Linked DNA regions of Homo sapiens: region 2 is linked to region 1. Evidence: promoter capture Hi-C in human tissues and cell types (Jung and others, 2019). All regions are on one chromosome and are shown on one strand. Each heading gives the region's core, a stretch centred on a gene start or on the middle of the fragment in contact. The rest is flanking DNA. Distances are from core to core; before and after follow the strand shown. Region 1 holds the start of TRUB1 (TruB pseudouridine synthase family member 1). Region 2 overlaps CASP7 (caspase 7).

Region 1 (5,198 bases), core at 1,461-3,960:
AGAAGGGTATGGTTGTCTGCTTTGACATAAACTTCTAAGGCCAGACCTCAGTTTCAAACCCTTGATCTGTCACTTGCAATCCATCATGGATCTCTCACTCATAAATTAACAGAAACCTTTTGGGGAACTCTTTACATTTTCAACTTGACACCCCTTGGAGTAAGAAGGCCCCATAAATATACTATCTTCCCTTTGTGCCCAAATATACCTCCTTCTAACTTGCAGACGTACTGCCTCTACTATATAAAGTGGGGAATTTGGTTCACCCCACTGAACTAAGTATTCGTGGATTTTTATTATTTTCTAGCTATAAAATTCTGGTACACTTAGGGCTTTGAAGGATCCCAACAGACAAACAGTAGAGATTGTAGCATAATAGGAATCAATGCAAAGAAAGACAAGGAATGGTATTAGAGGACACAACCACTGATCATGGTTGTCAAACATGGCATTAGAATGTAGGTATCTTTAAGAACCTTCCCAAGGCCGGGAGTGGTGGCTCATGCCTGTAATCCCAGCATTTTGGGAGGCTGAGGCGGGCAGATCACCTGAGGTCGGGAGTTCGAGCCCAGCCTGACCAACATGGAGAAACCCCGTCTCTACCAAAAATACAAAATTAGCTGGGCATGGTGGTGCATGCCTGTAATCCCAGCTACTTGGGAGGCTGAGGCAGGAGAATCACTTGAACCCAGGAGGGGAAGGTTGCAGTGAGCCGAGATCTTGCCATTGCACTCCAGCCTGGGCAACAACAGCGAAACTCCATCTCAAAAACAAAAACAAAAACAAAAACTTCCCAAGCAATTCTGACAGCCAATTACAATGACATTTGGAAAGCCCTAGCCTAACTAACATAAATACAAAATAGGCCAATCACAAGCAATATAGAAATCGAGGATAATGAGAATGTCTCTAGCTAAAGGTTCTAGCCTAGCAAGAGCCTTGAAACATTTTAACCAAGATTCAACAAGAAACTTCAGTTCTTAGAGGCAGATTAGCCAGAAGGCCAGAATATGGCTTTGTCAGAAACTTGTCTGAAAGAATGGTAATCATTACCTTAAGGATAAAAAAAAAAAAAAAAGAAAAGAAACCCAGAGTTTAGCTAACAAATCAGGAAAGCAGCAGTTCTATGAAGGAAAACTAAAAAACTATGATGATACCACAATACATATCCTTGATGCAATTCCTCACTTTGACGTCCTCTGTATGACCCATACTTTCAGGCAACAAAGCAAAACTTTAATAAAAGAATAAGTAGTCGTGATACTGGAATTAAACATCTGCAGGAGTGTACCTATTTGCCCATAAACACTTAAATCTGTACTGTCAGTTATAATTCCCATCAGAATAATTTGTTTTTGCATTTTTTTAAAGTGTAAAGTTTTCCATGGGACACTAAACAATGTAAGAAAGTCCCTGTTACTGGTTTAATGGCGAGACAGAATACGGCCAAACTCTGGAGGGCCTTGAATAACCTAACTAACTAGTTTTACCACCACAAGGTGCAGAAATTACTAGGCTATCAGCTCAGTTAAGGTAAGAGAGTTATCTTTCATCTTCAAGTCTCTATAGGCTAGCACAGACCTGGCTTATTGTATATGTCCAATGAACTTAAGGATCCTGGATGCTTTATGTGTGAAATCATCCGAGCTGATTAACGGGGTGATTCTCTAGGCTTTTCTACTATTTTCCCAGTGTACGTGAATAAACGAATCAATAAAATGAACACTCTCAGCTTAGTGGCCAAGTTATATTTAGTGTTCCTCAAATGTGGTCCATAAACTACTTACACTGGAATCACCTGGAGCAACTATTTAGAATTGCAGTTTCCTAAAAATACCCCGAACTCTCCGAATCACAATCTCGGACAGGGCAGGGATTAGGAATCTGTATTTGTACAAGAGACTCTAAGTAATTGTTAGGCCCATTAAAATGTGAAAACGACTATATTAAGTCTTGGTTAACGAAGTATATCTGCATTTCCAATACATTTTGAGGAATGCAACTTTAGGGGTGCAGAACCAGTACTTCCTTTTGGGGTTCATCCACATGAACCCAACAAAAGCCTCCTGAGGGATCGATCAGATTACAGAAAACAGGTCTGCACGCCCAAGGGCAGGGTTTTATTGTGTAAGTACGGGATTTTTTTCCTCCCGTTGAGAACTACAACTGCCAAGTAGGCTACAAGAGTTCGTGCCAGGGCAAGTCCAAGCCCGAGATGCCCGAGATTCCTGTCCAGAGCTAATTCAATGGTCAGTCTCCCTTTCCCCTCCTTTTGTCTCTTGAATCACGAGCGTCGCAAAAAGCCTAATGTGCTTCCCCTCTCGCAGCGACCGCCTCAGCCTGGTCCCCACCCGGGCTGCAGTACCTGCCAGCAGCTTCTCCTTCAACCGATTCAGCAGCTCGGCTGAAGTGGGCCCTTTGGGCTTGTGCACGGCGAACACGCCGCTCAAGGACAGCAGCTTGGTAGCCAAAGCGGCCTTGGAGACCCTGGCTTCGGATCCGGTCCTGGCCGCGGCCGCAACCACCGCGGCTGCAGCCCTTGCTGACGGGGTCGCAGCCATTGCTGCGACCGTTCCTGCAGTTTCAAGGACAGGGGATGTGTCTGTTTTCAAAGACGGCGAAGACACCACCGCCGCCTCAGAAGCGGCCATACTTTTGTAGCCCAGACCTGTTTCATCGTGGAGGTGCACGCTGATGATGCAACAAGAGTGCGCCTGACAGGACCCTCTTCCTCATACCGCGAAGCTGCGCAGAACGGAGAGGTCGCACGGACTTGTGGGAATTGTAGTCCATGGCCTTCCCATATAGACCAAGAGCTTGCTGTGCCCTTGGACTTTAAATAGAAAATTTTAAATGTTGACTTTTCCTGAGGCTTGTGAAGATCCATGGCTTCCTGGGCTCACTGCTTCATTGATTGTATTGTGCTCTTACATTCAGGTTCAGAATTAGAAGACATCCAAATGTGAGCTCTATTAGAGCAAGGAACTTATGTACCACGTTAACTGAGACATTCCCAAATGCCTCACATGTTGTAGGCACTTAAATAAATATTTGAAAACGTATAAATAAGTATGAATTCTTCAAATTCCCCGAAGAAACCAAGCCAATGGTAAATCACTTGTGCTTATTTTGATGCTCTTCATGCACTCCTGTTCACCCTCCCCAAACCCCCACTGACCCCACTACAATTTTTAATAATTCTGATTTTGAATATCAGCTCTTCTGTGGGTTGAATTCCTTAGTACACTTTGTTTAGATATCAAAAGGTATTCTTGCAATTCATAAACTTTAAACCACTTCCCATTTGAGACCTTCTCCCTAAAAGTTATTCACTCCCTAACAAGATTGAGGAATATTGTTTTGATTCCAGCACAAGGCAGAGTGGAGAAAAATTACTTCTGCACCAGAAACATTAAATGCTATCATAACTATTGTGAGACAGATAAAGTTTGCCCTCATTGTTTTTTAGGTTTCTTTACAACCACTCTTTGTCCTCATCATACTCTTGGACTTTAATATCTAGTATTTTAGTGATGCCCCTTAGCTGCTCACAATCACCAGTTATGGGGTCCCATTTGAACTTGCACCCATTCGTGCAACAGACACATGGCAGAACAATTTATTAAAAGGAAAAAAAAATCTTTGAGGGAGTTTTTTCAGGGTGGAAAGCTGAAACTCCTAGAAGGAAGTCACTTACTCTTGTGGTCTATTATAAAAGCCTAAGCTAACTGAAAAGATTGGCATATCACAGGATTAGTGGACACCTGGCCCTGCTTCAAGATGTTAATTTTTCCACAAAGATGTTGTGACTTCAGAAGGGATGACTGCACCCAAAGGAGCATGGTGTCCATTAGCCTCAGGAAAGAGTTCTCTATTCTTGTGCCATGGAAGCAGAGAGCCAGGGACTTGCAGGGAAGGTTGCAAGGCTTGATCAATGATGACTTGGATGACTCCAAGGCACTTGGAGATTAGAGGCCTTTTCCCAATTGTCCGGACATCAGCAAGCCTCCCTATTTCTCTTGTGGCTCTGGGGGTGAGGGATGCAGAGGGAGAACAGAACTAGGGGTAACATATGATGCTTATATTTGAATTTTCCATCAGCCCAGTGTAGGACCAGAGTTAATCTGATTTAAAGAAAATGAAGAAATGTATATTTCTTGCATGTTTGATTTCTGGGATGCTAGGACACAACAAAATTAATGCTACTCTGCTATTATATCGGCATTCTTGGGATCAGAAGCACCAAGCTTTGTTTTTCTAAGGTAATCAACATCTCCCACATTGGGCAGGCCTTGAATTCACAGGTTTTTTTTGCTCCAATACATGTATGAGTTTGGGCTCTTTGGTCAACAGAAAACTGATTCATACCAGCTTGGGGGCACAGGGGGAGAAGATTTATCAGAAATACACTGACACACTATTCAGAACCTAGAAAGTTCTCTGTCTCTAGCTGCACATCCTTCTTTTATGCTACTCACTTGTGTCTTTTTTTTTTTTTTTTTTTTTTTTGAGACAGAGTTTCACTCTTGTTGCCCAGGCTGGAGTGCAGTGGCACAATCTCAGCTCACTGCAACCTCCGCCTCCCGGGTTCAAATGATTCTCCTGCCTCAGACTCCTGAGTAGGTGGGATTACAGGCATGTGGCACCATGCCCAGCTAATTTTGTATTTTTAGTAGGGACGGGGTTTCTCCATGTTGGTCAGGCTGGTCATGAACTCCCAACCTCAGGTGATCCGCCTGCCTCGGCCTCCCAAAGTGCTGGGATTACAGGCACGAGCCATCACGCCTGGCCCACTTGTGTCTTTATTCCTCTTTCCTGTTTCTAACAGGCCTTTTATTCTAACTCTTCATTCCACATCCTTGTTTTAAACCATCCTATTTTGATCCAATTCCAAAAATCTTCTGGATGAAGTCACTCCTGACCACCTACAGAACATAATACCTCCCTCTTTCTATCCCTCTACCATGGCACTTTCCTAGCTAACTTTCTGGCTTTATTTTTTTCCATGGCACATCTCACCTGACATACCATGAAAATGATTCGGATGTTGGTTCCCTCCAAATCTCATGTTGAAACGTGATTCCCAGTGTTGGAGGTTGGGCCTGGTGGTAGGTGATTGGATCACAGGAGTGGACCCCTCATGAATGGTTTAGCTCCCAGTGTTGGAGGTTGGGCCTGGTGGTAGGTGATTGGATCAC
Region 2 (4,772 bases), core at 1,104-3,603, 1.3 Mb after region 1:
ATGTATATATGTACGTACATATATATGTACGTACATGTATACATGTACATACATATATATGTACGTACATGTATACATGTACATACACACACACACATGCACACACACACACGGAAAAGCACCTCATTACATACAAAGAAATGTCCATAAGACCATCTGGTGGATTTCTCACCAGAAACCTTGCAGGCCTGGAAAGAGTGGGATAATATAATCAAAGTGCTAAAAGAAAGAAACTGCCAACCACAAATATTATATCCAGCAAAGCTGTCCTTCAGAAGAAAAGATAAATACTTTTCTGAGACACATGAAAATGACAGTGTTCATCACTACTAGACCTGCCTTACAAGAAATGCTAAAAGGAATACTTCAGGTTGAAATGAAAGGACATTCTTTAAACTCACTGGTAAAAGTAAGTGTATAGTCAAATCCAGAATATGTGAATAATTTACAGGTGGTCTTTGACTTACAATGGTTTTACTTAAGATCTTTTGTCTTTCCAATGCTGCAAAAGCAAAACACATCATGTAGAAACCATACTTCAAGTAACCATACACCCATCCTGTTTTTACTTTTAGTACAGTATTGATAAATTATATGAGATATTCAACACTTTATTATTAAATAAGCTTTGTATTAGATTCTCATGCCCAGCTGTAGGCTAATGTGATATAAGCATGTTTAAGACAGGCTAGGCTAAGCTCTGAAATTCAATAGATTAGTTGCATTAAAGGCATTTTTAGCTTATGATATTTTCAACTTACATTGGGTTTATAGGGATGTAAACCCATCATAGGTTGAGGAGCATCTGTATTAGCTGTGCATAAATCACTTTGAACTCTACTAAAGTTAAAAGACTAAAGTATTAAAAACAACTCTAGCTTCAATAACCATAGCTATATAGTTGTTAATAGATATACAATATAAAGAAATGTAAACTGTGACATCAATAACATAAAACATGGAAGGAGAGAATAAAACTGCAGAATTTTTGAATGTGCGTGAAGTTAAGTTGTTGCTATGGTCTGAATGTTTACGTACCCCCCAAAATTTACACATTGAAATCTATTCACCAATGTCATAGTATTAGGAGGTGGGGCATTTGGGGTATGATTAGGTCAAAAGGGTAAAGCTCCATAAATGGGATTAGCACTTTTATATAAAGAGAGCTGCCCTGCCCTATCTACCATGTGATAAGATATAATAAATGAACAAGGAAATGAAACTTCGCTATACACTGATGCTGTTAGCACTTTGATCTTCAACATGCCAGCCTCCAGAACTACAAGAAATATATTTCTGTTGTTTATAAGCTACCCAGTTTAGGGTATTTTGTAATAGCATCCCAAATGGACTAAGTTGTTATCAACTTAGAATAGAACGTTATAAGATGTTTTGTGTAAGCCTCATGGTAATAACAAAGCAAAAATCTGTAGTAGATATGCAAAATATATACAGAAAAGAAACAAAGCATATCACTACAAAAAATGATCAAATCACATGGGAGGGAAGCAAGAGAGGAAGAGAGAAACAGATGAACTATAAAACAGTCAGAAAACAATCACAAAATGGCAACAGTGAGCCCTTTACCTATCAATAATTTCTTTAAATGTAAATGGATTAAGTTATCCAATCAAAATACATACAGTGACTAAATAGAGTAAAAACATAAGATCCAACTACATGATATTTACAAGAGACTCACTTTAGATTTAAGGACACACATAGGCTAAAAGTGAAGGGATATAAAAAGATAATCCATATGAATGGTAACCAAAAGAGAGCAGGGGGGGCTATACTTATATCAGACAAAATAGACTAAAGTAAAAAACTTTCGAGATAAAGAAGGTCATTATATTATAACTATAGATATCAATTTACCAAAGACATAACAACTGTAAATATATATGCATCAACATTAGCACACCTAAATATATAAAACAAGTATTAATAGAACTACAGAAAGAAATAGCAATAGATAAGAGTAAGGGACTTCAAAACCTCACTTGCAACTATGGATATTTCATCCAAATGGAAAATCAATTAGGAAACAGTGGATTTGAACAACACTAGTCCAAATGGACCTAACAGACATATATACAACATTTCATCCAACAGCAGCAAAATACACATTCTTCTCAAGTGTACACAACATTCTCCAAGATGGATCATATGCTAGGCTACAAAACAAGTCTTAATTAATTTAGGAGGATTAAAGTCATATCATGTATCTTTTCTGACCACAAATGGTATGAAAGTAGAAATCAGTAACAGGAGAGAAATTAGAGAATTCACAAATATGTGGAAATTAAGCAACACACTGCTCTTCTTTGAGCCAGAACAACAAAACTACAAAACACTGATGAAAGAAATTAGACATAAATAAATGGAAAGATATTCCATGTTCATAGATTGGAAGAATTAATATGTTAAAATGTCCATGCTGCTCAAATTGATCACTGAACAGATTCAATGCAATCCCTATCTAAATTCCAATGGCATTTTCACAGACATATAAAAAAATTATAAAATTCATATGTAGCTACGAAAGACCCTAAATAGCCAAAGCAAACTTGAGCAAGAGCAAAGCTAGAGGCATCACATTTCCTCACTTCAAATTATATTACAAAGCTATAGTAATCAAAACCGTATGATACTGGCATAAAGCAGACACATGGAGCAACGGAACAGAATAGAGAGTCTGGAAATAAACCCACACATTACAGTCAACTAATTTTTGACAAGGGTGCCAAAAATATTCAATATGGAAAGGATAGTCTCTTCAAGAAATGGTGTTGGGAAAATTGGATATCCACATGCAAAAGAATAAAACTAGACTCTTATTTCACACCATACAAAAAAATCAACTCAAAATGGATTAAAGACTTCAACATAAGACCTGAGACCTTAAAACTGCTAGAAGAAAACATAGGGAGAAAGCTCTTTGACATTGGTCTTGACAATGAGTTTTTGCATATGATGCTAATGCACAGGCAACAAAGGCAAAAATAAACAAGTGGGATTACACCAAACTAAAAAGCTCTGCATAGCAAGGAAACAATACAAAAAACGAAAAAGCAACCTATGGAATGGGAGAAAATATTTACAAACCATATATCTGAAAAGGGGTTAATATCCAAAATACACAAGGAACTCACACAACAGAATAGCAAAAAAAAAAAAAAAAAAAAAAAATCTAATTAAAAAAATGGGCAAAGAACCCGAATAGACATTTCTCTAAAGACATACAAATGGGCAACAGGTATATGAAAAGGTGCTCAATGTTCCTAATCATCAGGGAAATGCAAAGCAAAACCACAATAAGATATCATCTCGCAACTGTTAGGATAGCTATTTTATATGTGTGTGTGTGTGTGTGTATACACATACACATATGCATATATAATGTGTATGTGTATGTATATATGTGTGTGTGTATAAAGGTAAGTGTTAGCAAGGATGTGAAAACAAGGGAACTCTTCTATACTGTTGGTGGGAATATAAATTGGTACAGCCATTATGGAAAACTGTCTAGAGGTTTCTCAAAAAATTGAAACTAGAAATCGCATATGATCCAATAATCTCACTTCTGGCTATATATCTAGAGAAACTGAAATCAGGATCTCAAAAAGATACCTGCACTCCCACATTCACTGTAACATTATGGAAACAATCTAAATGTCCATCAATGAATGAATAGATAAAGAATATGTGGTATACACACACAATGGAATATTATTCTGCCATAAAAAAAGAAGGAAATCCTGCCATCTGTGACAAGATGGATGGACCTAAGGAACATTACGCTAAGTGAGATAAGCCAGACACAGAAAGACAATTACTGTATGATCTCACATCTATGTGGAATCTAACAGAGTCAAACTCATACAAGTGGAGAATAGAATGGAGGTTGTCAGAGGTTGGGGGTGGGGGCAGCGAGGAAGAAATGGGGAAGTGATAGTCAAAGGGTACACAGTTTCAGTTGTGCAAGATGAATAAATTCTAGAGATCTCCTATATAGCATAGTGCCCATAGCTAACAATACTATATGGTATACTTACAATTTGCTAAAAGGGTAGATCTTATGGTGAATGTTCTTACCACACAAAAAATACTAGTTTTGGCCAGGCATGGTGGCTCACACCTGTGATCCCAGCACTTTGGGAGGCTGAGGCAGGCGGATCACAAGGTCAAGAGATTGAGACTATCCTGGCCAACATGGTGAAACCCCGTCTCTACTAAAAATACAAAAATTAGCTGGGCATGGTGGTGCATGCCTGTAGTCGCAGCTATTTGGGAGGCTGAGGCAGGGGAATCGCTTGAACCCGGGAGGCAGAAGTTGCAGTTAGCCGAGATTGCGCCACTGCACTCCAGCCTGGTGACACATTGAGACTCCACCTCAAAAAATAGTAGTAATAAAAATAATAGTAATAATAGCATTAAACGGTGTGGGAGGAAACTTTAGGAGGTGGTAGCTTTGTTGAGGTGGTGATGATTTCATGGGTGTATCTATGCTTATCTCCAAACTTGGTAGGTATGCATGCATTAACTATGCCTAGCTTTTTATATTTCAACTATACCTTAATAAAGTGGTTTTGAAAAAGGGGAAGACCCTAAGCAAAATGGCTCCTAAGAAAGCCAAGCCTTTGTTTTGATATTATTGGGACTGCTGAGACTTTTGGAGACTCTTCTTCATTCATTCAATGGATATTTACTAGAAGTTAGGAATTAGGGATATACTTGTGAGCAAATTGACCTGGTCCTGCCATGTTGAG

Evidence for each region. The method cuts DNA at HindIII sites, captures the fragments that hold promoters and counts their contacts. A contact is called where the count stands out against the background at its distance.
Region 2: a fragment that was not itself captured here is called in contact with the fragment with the promoter of TRUB1 in region 1 in 1 of the 25 tissues and cell types used here (stomach).

The regions. Positions count from the first base shown.
Region 1 is chr10:114,935,707-114,940,904 of GRCh38, reverse strand. It overlaps TRUB1 (TruB pseudouridine synthase family member 1), which reads right to left and starts at 2,710. Exons shown (of 8, transcript NM_139169.5): 1 at 2,366-2,710. The coding sequence starts at 2,651. RefSeq lists an enhancer at 2,339-2,878. The HindIII fragment of the contact is 7,626 bases long and covers 1-5,069 here.
Region 2 is chr10:113,682,660-113,687,431 of GRCh38, reverse strand. All of the region lies in intron 1 of CASP7 (caspase 7), which reads right to left. Among named protein-coding and RNA genes, the nearest start is that of CASP7, 5.1 kb to the right of the region's middle. The HindIII fragment of the contact is 8,159 bases long and covers 1-4,772 here.